Linked DNA regions of Homo sapiens: region 2 is linked to region 1. The links are contacts of gene promoters, found by promoter capture Hi-C in blood cells and fetal thymus (Javierre and others, 2016). All regions are on one chromosome and are shown on one strand. The core of a region is centred on a gene start or on the middle of the fragment in contact, and the rest is flanking DNA. Distances in the headings are between cores, read along the strand shown. Region 1 holds the start of CTXN2 (cortexin 2). Region 2 has its middle 520 kb from the start of SEMA6D.

Region 1 (7,105 bases), core at 3,722-6,221:
GGACATGGTTTAGTTATTTTGGCAATGCATTTAACAGTCTCCCATGATATCTTTGTGGGGAAGATATGAGATATGCCTGGATAATAGTGTTTTTATGTAGATTCATAGATCTGAACTACCCTAATAAATATCGGGTTCTATAATCATGGACGTGGGTCTCCAGTGTGGTATTACAAAGGTTTCACTTTAATCTACGCATGTTTTCAGTGTTTTTGAACAGTGACTAAGTTGAAGATATTGAAGTGAAGCTTATTAAATTTGACAAAGTGTGGCTGAAATATGATAGCACATGGAAAAAACACTCAAGACAATTCTGATGCCTAGAATTCTGGGTTGAAGCTAGAACATAAAATTTAATAGAAACACTTCTAAAGCCCTTTGTTTAAGTGGGAGGGAAGGAGATGCACCAAATCCAAACAGGGGAGATAATGACTTGGCAATTCATGTAAAATAAATCTGTAAGCTGCAATTAGTCAAGTTAGCCTGAGCCAAAGATATGAGGTGGTGGCTTATAAAAGCAAATGTCTTAAATTGAATAGGGGTGCAAATGATAGAAAGTAATAACATTATTATAATGTGTCAGGCCACATATAAAGTAACACTGCATATATTCACTATACTTTCATTGAAACATATTTATTGGGTTGCTAGTATGCTCTAGTAGACATGCACTCCTCTACTTAAAGGGATTCCAACTAGTAAGGGAGAAGAGCCATGTACACACAAGGAAAGAAACAACAACATAGGCTTCTACAAAAGCAATAAAAAAGGAAGAGGAAGCCAACTTGTATTTAAAATCTACTGTGTATCAAATACTGCTTTACATATTTTATTTTATTCCCACAACACCCACATAGTGTTGATACTATCTTCAACATCTTGGTGAAAAAAAAGAAGATCCAAAAAGGATAAACAAGTTTAGATGAAATCAAGATATCACCCATTGAGGGATCAGGAAAGTTTTTCTTGCAAGAGATTGTATTTGAACTGAGTCTTGAGAGACAGAATGATTCAAATCTGTGAAGAAGAAAAAAGCATGACAATAAATATGAAGGCAGAAAAATACTGGATTTTTTCAGAGCACAGTGAGCAATTTGGTACAGGCAAGGGGGAGTATGGGAAACAAAGCGTTGGAAAGGTAGGTTGGAGCCAAATTGTGAAATATGTTGACTGTCAGGCTAAGAGTTTGAAATCTATTTGCTTAAAGGCTGAGTGGCTTGATGATGAGACTGAAATAGACATAATTTTGAGGGAGAGAGCATCACGGGAAAGAAATGGTTCAGGTGAGAAGCAATGAGGGTCTCCACTAGGGAGTAGATGTATGAAAGAGGGTAGAGGTTGGAAAGATATTTAGAAAAGTAGGAGGGATAGGATTTGGAAAGTAGTGGGCCCAAGGAGAGAGAGGCATCAAAGATGACTCTACACTATTAAGCTCGGACAAGTGTAAATATAGTGTTTTTATTAATCAAAACAAAGAAAATAAGAGCAAAGCATAGACTTAAAAAGTAAATGACAAGTTTATTTCTGGACTTGGTGAATTTGTGGTACTCATGTGTGGCACTTAGTAGGCACTCAATTGTCAGCTTTCAATAAATTTATCCAGATCATTTTGTCTAGCATAAAATTTTTGATGGGGAGAATATTTTAAGGTATTGTTGTCAAATAACGTTTGTGTAGAAGACTTTATACAGGATGGAGAGAGCCCAGTACATAGAAATATTTGCAGATCAAAACTTAAAGAGAAGAAAAGAATTGTTGAGTTTTGCCTAGGAAAGGGAAGACCAAGAAGGACAATAGGTAGACTCAAATATTTGAAATATTATCTTGTAGGAAGCCAGATGGACTTGTTCTAGATTGATCCAGAGAGCAATTTTACTGTAATTCCATTAAAGTCTATTTTCTGTTACCAGAAAAGATTAAAGATGGAAGAAGCCTAGCAAGGAACTCCAAGGAATGCCTCTCCTACAAGGAGGATCTCCTAGTGGAGTTATATAAGATGAATCATGAGTAAATCTGTAGCAGAAAGTTCACCTATAATAAAGGAGGCTAGGGCTTCTAGAATGAGGCATTAGCAAACAGTGTCAAATTCTGCAGCGGTGATGGAAACTAAGCACTGGAAAACAGGGTCTTATGGTTGGCATTCAGAATTATTTCATCATTATAAAAATTTAGTTGAGAGTCTAGGAGGGACACTAAATTGAATTGGATTTAGGAGTGAGGGGTAATGAGAAAATGGAGTCAGGTGGTAAATAAACTTGACAGAAAATAAGTTTTACTTAGTCGGTACAGAAGGTTAAATCATATGATGAATCACTTTCAATAATGAAGACATGACTGCATATTCAGTTTTTAAAGGAAGAGCTCCATAAATTTACCTGGATTCAAAGAACTGTAAAATTTCCATTTTTAACAAAAAAAAAATGGGTTGAGAAAGAACAAATGTTTTATTAATATCTTAAAAGAGAAAACAGGCTTTTATATTTATCATAAAATATACTTTATACTAAAGATGAAAACAAAATACAGGTCAAGGAGAGCAACTGAAAAAGTAATATTCAAAGGCTGATTAAAAATTTGTCCATTGCTGCAGGCTGTGCCTACACAAGCAAATAGAAGTAAAAAGTTAAGCAATTGCCTAACAATGTGTTCAGCAAATAGATGGTTTTAGTAATTTAAACCATATATATAGCAGTTGAAATATCAGTATTTCAGGCCTAAATTTTTCAAACAATTGGCCAAACTTTCCATTTTACTTGCTCTGTGAAATGAAGAACTTGTCTCATTTCAACAACAAATCCAAAGTTTTTGAGGATATACTGTTAAGTGTGCCAAGTCCTGCTTTTCTACTGATATAGAGCATAATATGATATGAAAATATTGTTAATAACAAAATATTATTAAAAACAAAAGTCCCCAGTTATAAAACTGATTCATTCACAATTACTAAGGTGTTCAAAATACTCAACAGTTATAGATAAAATATGCATTTTCACTTTCTCTAAAAGCTGGAAGAGCTATTCACAACAGACACTGTAATGCCTAGCTCCAGAGAAGCATCATTTTAATATCCTGTTTATTGGGAAATAGAAAAAAAAAGAAATCTGAGAAAATTTAGATTAAGTTACAAAACCATATATTAAAAAATCCATATAAAAATAGTTAAGAAAAAATGAACTTTCAAAAATAAGTAGAATGTAAAATTGGGTAGTGGTAAAAGTTATTTGAAATATATTATACCACAAAATTGGGTAAAATAAACAATGCACAGTTTAAATATCAGGATCAATATATATAATGATTAAAATATTTAAGTGTCTTTTAATACTACTGATGCAAATGATAAAATATTGTCTTGAGCCATATTCACTGGAATAAATGGTTAGGTACTTTGGCAATGAGTAACTTGGTTGAAAGTACATTTCCTTCATGGCAATTGTCAGGCACCAAGATTTCTAAGTACTGATGAGTCATAAGATTGGGCCAGGGGTGTTCCTGTAGATATCAAATAGCCCAAATCTCATGAAGTTGCTTTGTAATTGGCAACTAGTAAGTAAAAAACAAAGTCTTCCTATGATCAGTACTTACAAATCATATCTCCGTAAGCAGTTAAGCAAAGATGATAGTATTTTTATACCTGATATGCAGCCTTTCATATTCATGAATATTGTTAGTGATGTTTATGTCTTCTGTGAAATAACCTTACTAGAGATATAAAAATATACCTTTCAGATAAAATCATTTAATCATGCAACAATGCACAATTACAGAAACTAATGTTAAAAAGTGTGTACCCATTAAAGAAAGAACCTCCTGTGTTTTATTTTAATCAACAGGTTTTTCCTCTTGTTTATTTCTCTAGTAATGGTATTCCAAACAATAAACCTGAAATAATAACTATTAGAGTGGAATATGATGTTCTAGGTAGAAAGTATTTTAGCACTGGTCATTAGATATAATAATCTCTACTGCTAATGATGACATTCATAATTTCATGAAATAAGACATATAAGAAAACCCAAGCTTAAAAAATAATGAACCATTCCATACATATACACACTCCACACAAAATATAAAGATTATATCCCAGTAAAAGAGAGAAAAGAAGCATTATTGAAACCACATCTGCACAGAGGTAGTTAATCATTAAGAATCGAATGTGTTGGAATAAAAGGAAAACCTTAAATTACAAACCTAGATGTCTTCATCATGGTGAAATGCATAAATTTCAGGGCTTTCCAGAGATCCCAGACCTTAGGATCTGCCAGAATCCACCCCTAAACCCTCAGATTTCAACCTTAAGAGAATTTCTCTCTTAAGAGAATCTTTGGATGGCTCAAGGACTCTGACACTCAATCCTTCCAACGCACTGGGAAACCTGGTCTGAAAATTCTCCAGATATCTCATTAAAGAAACCTAGACCATCATCATCATTCTGCGTTGTTTGTTTCCAGGTCTCTTTCTACGCACTAAACCGAAGAAGCATGGAAACTTCCTACAAAACATTATGGGAGAAGCATCAGCAATCTGCACGTACACAACACTTTTCCCCCGCCTGGCAGCCGCATCAGCAGTGGCGCTAGCATTAGGGGTGCTGTTTCTCCTTTAGAATTTGAACTTATCAGACCTACTGGCTCCTCCACCCACCGCCCCACCCCCCGCTCTTTTGCTTCAGAAATACAAGAGAATGAGGACATGCTTCTCATCTGGACCTGCATTTGGAACGCTGTCAGTTAATGCGGAGGGAAGGGGGAGAAAGTTACTTCGCAGACAGCGATGTCTCACCTTCCATGCTTGTTGCCATGGAGATGAAGTCCAGCCAGTAGACTTAAGTGTTGGCACGTTTGTCTGTGTTCGCTGATCGGTTCAGTAACAAATGTAGAAGGCGTGTTCTGGAACCTGCGTAGAGTCACAGGGCCCTGGTTAGCGCTTTCCTGGCCTAGAAGTGTAAATGTCTGTGTCTGTTGGTGAGACAGAGGACGTGGGCGCCCGCCGAAGTACGTGTGCGCGCGCGCGTTTGCAGGAAAACGTGCATGGATTTCTTCGGTGTGGCAGTGTGTAAATATTTGCGCTCGCGTGTGTCTGTGGCAGCATCTGTGTGTGTATGTGAGACTGAAAGGAGGTGGGAGATGAGGAGGGGAAGGGAATCAGCTCCAGCAGCAACAGGCTCTATTCTTCAGTTCTGCTAAAAGAAAGAGGAAGAGAGGAAGAAAAAAATAGACACTCCTTTTTTTTCTCACGACACACCCTGAAGGTTAGCAATTAGATTTCATCATTATCTTTGTTTACTAAGGCAGTGAGGGTTTAATTGATTTACTGCTGAAATCCTTGTTTTGCTCTCTTTGCTGCATTCCTGGCTGTGCTGCGGGCATTTTGCTGTGCTTTGGTGACAGCCGTTTTCAGTAGAACAGTAGGCACTAAATTCTTACACGTTTCTTCTTATCCGGTAAGGAAAATTCAGGAGTGAAAGGTGTATTGATTTAACTGGAGACTGAATGTGTCGTTTGGAGTTCTTTTCCTCTACTCTTTCCCTTCTCTCTTCCACACAAACACAACTGAATCCCCTTCCGTTTCTAGGAGAAGGCGCCTAGGCGCTGTCCGTAGTGCTGAAATGGTGCGTGGTGAGACCTGTCTCCCCAACACAAGCTAGAAGACAACAAAATAGCAGCCAGGAAACGCTCTGATAAAGCTCTAGATAGCTGCCAGGTACGTTTTCTAAACAGTGTTGAATATGTAGATTCTAAACCTAACCGACGTTGAAAGCAAGGTAAAGCAAAGCAAAGCAAAGGAAAACAAAAAAACAACAACAGAAACCTTGCTCTTTATCCTTATTTTAGGGGTCTGGCCGTTTCAACAAACTCAGTTACAGGGTTCCCAATTCTATTTATGTTTTGCGACTCTATCCAGAACCTACAAGTTGCAAGCACTTTTAGATTCCCTACAATCTTAATTATTCACCTTATAACTACTGGACTGTGAGTCGTTGGGGGAAATGTAGATACAGAATTGGGACACTCATCTAAAGAAAATACTTTGAAAACGTAATGTAACTGCAACTAGATTCAATAACAAAGTGAAGACAAACTTCATGATTATTTAGAGTATTTACTGATTTAGGAAATGTAATGGTCTTACAAAAAAATGGGCAATGTATAACTGAGAGTTCATATAAGACCACATTTTTTAAAAGTTGTTTTTTGATTTTAAACTATTAAGATGTCCTAAAATGTAGGTGAACTAACTGCCCTCTATGAAAGACTGAAAGACATATCTTATTCTAGGGACATTTCCATGGCCATGGTTTTATTGACCCTTTTTAAACTTGCCAAGGGCCACATTCTTTATTAGCACTCTGGGCTGGAACAGTGCTTCTTGAAGTATAACATGCATATGAATCTTCAACGATCTTGCTAAAATGCAGACTCTGATTCAGTAGGTGTGGGGTTGGGTCTCAGATTGTGCTTTTCTGACAATTTCCTAGGTGATGCCAGAGATTACTAGTTTTGGGACCAATTAAAGTAGCAAGATGCAGCCAGGAGTGGTGGCTTATGCCTGTAATCCCAGCACTTTGGGAGGCCGAGGTAGGAGGATCACCTGAGGTGAGGAGTTTGAGACCAGCCTGACCAACATGGCGAAACCCTGTCTCTACTAAAAATACAAAAATTAGCTGGGTGTGGTGGTGGGTGCCTGTAATCCCAGCTACTCAGGAGACTGAGGCAGGAGAATCACTTGAACTCAGGAGGCGGACATTGCAGTGAGCTGAGATTGTGCCACTGCACTCCAGCCTGGGTGACAGAGCGAGACATTGTCTCAAAATAAATAAATAAATAAAAATAAAGTAGCAAGATGCTAGAGATATTGAATTCTGGCAATGCAGTCAGTCATAGATTGTGGGAAAGGAGATCATTTTATTCCATCTATTATTCTATGTATGTTTCCAAACTGTTACAAAAATAATTTATTCAAAATTAGTTCAGAGACTAATCATGTAAACATTTTGTCTGTACAGTATGAACAATTTTTTATGAATTTGATTCCTTTGATTTTGATTTTGACATTGTCTGGACCAGTGGTATAGTTGAGTCTGTATTTCCATACTATGATCTAT
Region 2 (6,913 bases), core at 1,970-4,469, 990 kb after region 1:
GATGGTCGCCTAACATTCCTGATGGGGTCAGGGAGGCCCTCTCCTGACCTGCTCATTCCTGATTAGCTACCTACTGTAACATAATGATATCGGAAGTTCTCCCATCCTCTGAATCTGTTACAGACCACAGGCTTGTGGCTCCCCATGTAATGAACATTAACATGAGGCCAAGCAATTTCCCAAACAAAGCTTTTATTTTGGGGCTTGTGCTCAAGCATAAGGAAGGCAGCATAAGCTCAAGGATCCTCCAGCTGACCCCCCAAAAAAGCCAGCAGAGGTTTTTTATTAGGCAAAGTGTGGGAACTGACATCAGGAATAAGGCATGCCGTCTGGGCTGGGCAAAGTATGTGAGGAGTAGGGTATAGAAATTATCTTGAATAAGAGACCAACTGGTGGTCTGACCAACAGCAACAGGCTGTAAATCAATTGTCCAGCATTCCTTCCTGAGGTGGGACACTCCACAATCTTGGTTTAATATTTGGATCTCTTAAGGCCAGTTTCTGGAATTAAGTAAAAGGTATGGTTAAACATTACGGCTTCAGTGAGGTAGTGGTATAGGTTTTGTGATCTGTGGGACTGCATAAAAGAATCCTCTAGTGGGGGTGAAGCCAAGCCCTGTCCCTACTCTGTCTCAAAACCACCTACTCTAGGAAGTAATGTTGCCAAACTTCTACTGATATTGAATAATGTCTGTATTATTAAAACTATCCTTCTGATATGACTCTGAATAATTTAAAAGAAAAGACAGAAATCAGGGTCATAGGAAAAATTATTAATGTGTCTTTTATATTTACCACATTTCTATTTCTTTCCTTGTCTTGAAAGCATTATCGCTCTATTTCTTAGATAAATTAGGCCTATGAATTTTGTAAATGGGCTCAGTACAACAGACCCATTAAGACATATGGTAGAGATGTCTGTAATGTATGCCATTCATCCGTAATGGTTTTTATTTTGAAATTCCCTTTGTAGAGTGTAGTGTTGGTTCATTTTACTTCATAAAACACTTGTGTAAGTATTGTTCTCTACAAACAAAGAAGCATAATGTAGAAATAAATTATTTGGAAGTAAATCTAAAAGACTGAATATTCCAAAATATAAAACACACACAAGCTTTCTACTAAATCGATGAATAAGACAAGGCAAAAGACAGTTTCCCTTAGCTCTAAAAAGACAGAGACCACCTTGAATACAGCTTACATACTGGCTCTTCATGCCCACCCTGGCTTCTCCCTCTCTCTTAAAGCACACTCAAAGAAACCACGCAGCTCTGGTGAAACAAGAAATCATTCAGTCATCATATTGTTTTGGTAACTTTTTCTAAATCAATGAAGAATGATTTTGTCAAGCATAGAAACCAGCAAATGCTGGGGCAGCATTCTAGGTTAACTTTTGGAAATATCTTTCTTTTTCTACCTATAAATGTGTAAAATGTATTCATATGATGTTTGTAGGGCAATTTTTTGAAAACTGCCCTGCAGTTGTAACTCAACCTCAAAATGTCAGCCTTAGTAAAATAGTGGAATTGTATGTGTACTTTTATGCTAATACCAGATAGAAACTTTTAATGACTTTACTACATAAATTTAAAGCTGGTTAGAATAGCGCATAATTAATATTTCTTTATTTTAGTAATTCACTAGAATAAAACAGTAATAATTAACATTGACTAAAATCCTAAGAATTATAATTAAAAGTGGCACTGTGAATTTATTCCAGGCTTATTTTATGCTTTTGAGTACATATTTTGTTCCCAACAGATATGTGAATTTTATAAAATATAATTTTCTGACCCCAGAGAAGGGTTGCCAACTCTCCCTCAAACAGGTACCACTTAAATTTGTTTATCTGATTAGTTGTACCTTGTTTCCTAGTCCTTTATAGTCTTGTAACACTTTTCACAAATATAGTTGGTCTTCTTCCCAACAAGCTAATAAGATCAGCACATCAGATACTCACAGATTGAGGAAGCAAGGGGAGCTAAATCAAAACTGGAGTCTTGTGATTTCCACAGCCCTTTCGCCCTTTCCCTTATTTCAGGGCAACTTAAGTACACAGATAATCTTCAGTGTTCCTTTGTTGAGTAATCTTGCTTTTGGTTTGAGCAGAACGTAGTGATATGGAGTATATAGACAAAGACACATAGATATACATCATAAAAGTGTGTTCTCTGAGGATGACCTCAGTTCTACCGCAACTGGCTGAAATCTAGGCATGCTACTTGGCCTCTCAAAGATTCTGTTTTTTTAAATCTGTCAAACAGTATTAATAATAGTAACTTTCATAATGAGAACTAAATGAAATAACGTATGTAACTAGCTAACCTAGCTCACTGCAAAATGCACAGTATGAATTTGGTAAATGCCATTTATTTGTATTATTAGACATCTCAGTTCACACACACACACATATACACAAAATACTCTAGAATAAATCCTACACTTTGGTACTGAGAAGGCAGGAGAGAGGAGAGATATATTTTAGTTTAGCAAGTTTTCTTGCAAAGGAAGGTTTGAGGAGTGTTTTATCATGGAAAAGTTGAGCACAGGTCAAGATGGAATAAATAAATTTCTAGCTCTTCTGTAGTTAGGTTTTCACAATGGGACTACATCATTTTTTTGGAAGGAATTGCAGAAATATCACACACATACACAAGGACCCATGTACATATCCACTTAGATATTTAAATATTTGTTCTAAAACATATTCCAAGTAAAACAGGAATGTTTTTATTTTCTGCTTTTGTAGGGGAGACACACACTCTTCCTAGAGTACAGAGCTCTAAGTGGCTTGCTTATACCTTTGCCTTACTCAACTACAAAACCTACTCCACCCAGCAAGACTACTCAGCAAAACACTTTGCTGGAAATGTATTGTGAATTCACAGGAATTGCAGTTCTCCAGGTGGTGTAATTCATGGCTGGTAATGAGAGCAGCTGAAACCATCTGTTTTCATAACTTTCTTCTGCACCTTAATATAAACCTCTTCATTAGCCAATAGGTCTATTTAACTATCCTAACACATTTGCTTCCTGAAATATTTTGTGGAAAGACTAGAAATAATGAGATAAAAACAGATAAACAAACAAACAAGTGGACTTACATACAGAAACTTTTAATGATCTTAAAGCCCAATTACTTACTGCTGATGCTGAGGCACAAAGGCAAAACCAATAGGGGAAAAGTGTAAAGTAGTTGTCAATGTTTTTCTCTTCCACATCTTTTTCCTGTTTAGTCCTCAGAATGATGCTTTTTAAGGGAAGTTCCTTCCCAGGAAAGGACTCCAAACTGTACCCATTGAAATCTCTTCCCTTAGGTGTTTCAGAGAAGCACAAAAACATATTGACGTATACGTGTCCTCCCTCCTGTCACTGTATAATTTTGTGATCCTTTGCTACAAACAGTTTGTCAAAAATATTGGTGTCAAGGAAGCAGAATGAAAATTTTGGGCTTTGGGTTTAGAAAAAGTTAAATTTGAATCCTGGTTCTCTTGCTTACTAATTAACCGTTATCCTCCCCAAAGAAAAGAGAAAAAAAAATCTCATCCAATTGCAAGTGTGAATCCAGGTCCCTGCTTGGACCACCCTTGGTGTGAAAGATTCACTTGGGAGTTACACAACACAGGAGCCCTTCTAAGCAGAGGAGGAGGCCAAGCTGTTATTGTTTTCACCTAATCCACTTCCTTAGAGCTCTGTCTTTAGGAATCAACATGATCCTAGACACAATGGGATCCATATCTTATTTTTTTAATTGACAGATAAAATTGTATATATTTATATTGCACAATATCAAATCCTGAAAAATACATACTTTGAATGGTATAATCAAGCCAATCAACATATGCATTACCTCACAGAGTTGTCATATTTTGTAGTGAGAACACAAAATCCGCCCACAGCAATTTTCAAGAATTCAGTATATTAACTATCGTCACCATTTGTACAATGGATTTCTTGAACCTATTCCTCCTGTCTAACTGAAATTTTATATCCTTTGACCAAGATCTTCCCACCCTCTGCACCAACCCCTGGTAACCACCATCCTACTCTCCACATCTATGAGATCAATTTTTTACATTCCACGTGTGAGTGAGATCATGAGGTATATACACAATGGAGTACCATTCAGCCACAAAAAAATAAGGAAAATCTGTAATTTGCAACAACTCAGATGAAGTTGGAGGGCATTATGTTACATGTGTCAGGTAATACCAACTCTGTCCTTTTCTAGGACAGTAAGCCTTTTGACTCCCCAAGGAAATGATTTAAATATATCCAAAAATTATTATTAGTTTACAAATATGACACAGAAAGAAATTTGTATTTTGAAAAATTAGTAAAAAAAATAAGAAATATAAACAATAATACTTAGAGTACTCCATAGTGTGTATATATTAAACAGTGCAATAATTAATGACGGCATGGGAATACAGATCTCCATATCAAGAGGTCATTTCAAGACATTTCTGATAAATTATCCAAAACAGCCAAAGAAACTGGTAGGCTGAGAAAAGCCCTTCAGTGAGTCAAGAATCATCAAACAAGACTTAATGCTAGGATTTTTTTTTCCCACTAATTTTGTTGTGGTAGTTAAATTAGAGGCTATGAATGAACTATTGTGGATTTATTTCAATTAATTCCCCCTCTCCACTCCTTTCTTTCAATCTTTAGCTTAGGTCTTCATTACAAAAAAAAAAAAAGACACTTGCAAGTTCAATCTTTGAGATAAATTTAACAAAGCAAGGCAAGATAGAAGAGCAGTCTATGCACATCTGTAACCTAATTTAAAAACAGAATTTGAGGGGCCATCCTAATTGTTCTTCTGATTTTCTACTCTATTCCAATGATTTAAAGACCTTAAACTCACTGCCTGTGAAAACTTAAAAGTGTTGGCACACAGAGAACCAGTTAAGTTTGGCTCTCTAAACATCTGGAAGATAACCTCGTATACAGGGTACAGCATCAAATCATCACAGGCTAGGAGGAGAGACTCTTCTATAATGGAGAGTAAAATCTCACAGGTTAGGGAAGAACAACTGTTCTTGAAAGTACCAAAGTGATATTAATGAATCCACAGAAGAAGCTAAAAAACCACCACCACAGGTACTTAAATCCAAACTACAGAAAGGGGGAGGGTTAGATTCCCCATTTGGCCACATAGATGAGCAAAGGTTTTTTGAATTTATATGTGATTTTTTTTCTTAACAGTGCTAAGATCTCCTAGTATATCCTGTTCAAGAAACCATTAAGAATCTGGTAGTTTTCCCAGTTACTCAAAATTCTAATGAACAGAAGCAGCCACACAAACCCAACCTGACAAGCTTAAGATCTTTTGTTGGTTGTCTTCTATAATTGATATTATGTGTATATTGAGAATAAATGGATGCTGTAGCCTCGTGCCAGTAGCTCTTTCTAACATGTTTCGCATTCTCTTGAATCGTGTGCAACTTTAGAAATTTCCAATCATCTTACTTTTAAATACCTCAGCTTACAATATGAAAGGGCTTAGCGCTGATTTAAATTAAGACATTTTACATAGCTCTGCCTGCATGCTTTCAAAATACTCAGTCAATTAACATAAGCTACCTTCCAAAGGATTTGCTTTAAGTCAGGTGGAAAGGAATATTATTTCAGAACCAAAGAAGGAAAAAAGAATATGGAACATACAGCAAACCAAATTTCTGAAAAAACGTTAAAACTGCTCAATTTCCCCATATTTTAGGGGGGCTGTCTTTTTTCCTCTTTAAAGAGTTCTACCAAAGATCTCTTTTGGCACACAAATGTCCTCCAGGAGGTCTCCCAAGGGATATAATATCCAAAATGTTGCAGCCCCTTCTATCAGACAGTGGCTCAGAAAGCCTCTCTGCAGCCTCCAAAATACTGCAGGCTCAATTACCCTCCGGGTGCAGTGAACGGGCAGAGCCATTAATCATTCCCAGGGCACTAAACGCCTTGAGAACAGTTCTGAGTCTGGCAGCATTAGGGATGTCCAAGAACTGAGCTTGTCTCCAACAGCTGGGCCATGCTGCCACCTGGAGGACAGCAGAACACATAGCTCCTCAGATGCCAGTTACTTCCCTCCAGTCCTAGTGGACCTACAACGTGTGGGCTATGCTGGATGAATATCACCTGCTTCTTGGGTGGTTAACCCTGTTCTCACGTCTCCAAAAAAAAAAAAATCTGAAACTTTCCCCTTCATTGATAACTTGCTGTGGAGCACCTGAGGCCAGTGGTGGTGGGTGAAGGCAGGTGGCCTGGGGGGCCTTGCTTTCTCTGCTGTCCTTCATCCACACGCTCACCCACGTTGAATCCCCATCTGTAGGTGAGCCTTTCCTCTTACTCACCCATCCAGTTAATGGGGGTCTCACATTCTGTTCTTTCAACAAGACATCGTGTCCACCCTCAAAGTGCTCAGACTCTGGATGAAGAGGTAGACAAGAGAATAGAAGGCTGTGCTCATTCATGATAAATGTTCAAACACGGCGAGCACAAGATGCAGTGGAACCCCGAGAAGAGATACCTAAATTGGTCAGGGTCAGGGGTTAAAGGACATTAGGAAAGTCTCCCGTGAGAGTGATCCTTTAGAGGCATCATGAAAAGAACAAGAGTGTGGTTTTGACATCTGGTAAGACCATGGTAAAATACACAATTATAACCACAAATCATGCAAACTTTCTGATTTTCATTTTCTTCCCCTGGAAAATTTTTGTATTAATACCTATCTTATAATGTTATCAGGGGAGATAGAAAATTATATATGTCAAAGAGCTGTGATAGTATATTAGCTCAACACCAGATAATCATTTTTGTTCTAATTATCCCAGCTCTGGCAGAGAAAGTTAGACTTATCTGGGCAGAGATAAAGGGCAGGGAACGGATGATGCAGCCCAAGTAAGACAGGTGAGAAAGCAATG

The links. The method cuts DNA at HindIII sites, captures the fragments that hold promoters and counts their contacts. A CHiCAGO score of 5 or more calls a contact.
Region 2: a fragment that was not itself captured here is called in contact with the fragment with the promoter of CTXN2 in region 1 in 2 of 17 cell types (M2 macrophages and M0 macrophages); the score reaches 6.4 in M2 macrophages.

The regions. Positions count from the first base shown.
Region 1 is chr15:48,189,531-48,196,635 of GRCh38, reverse strand. It overlaps CTXN2 (cortexin 2), which reads right to left and starts at 4,971. Exons shown (of 2, transcript NM_001145668.2): 1 at 4,783-4,971. CTXN2-AS1 (CTXN2 antisense RNA 1) reads left to right here and starts at 4,927. Exons shown (of 3, transcript NR_184082.1): 1 at 4,927-5,051; 2 at 5,575-5,703. RefSeq lists an enhancer at 4,464-4,967. The HindIII fragment of the contact is 9,900 bases long and covers 4,023-7,105 here.
Region 2 is chr15:47,195,291-47,202,203 of GRCh38, reverse strand. It overlaps a transcript of SEMA6D not described here. Among named protein-coding and RNA genes, the nearest start is that of SEMA6D, 520 kb to the left of the region's middle. The HindIII fragment of the contact is 4,207 bases long and covers 1,116-5,322 here.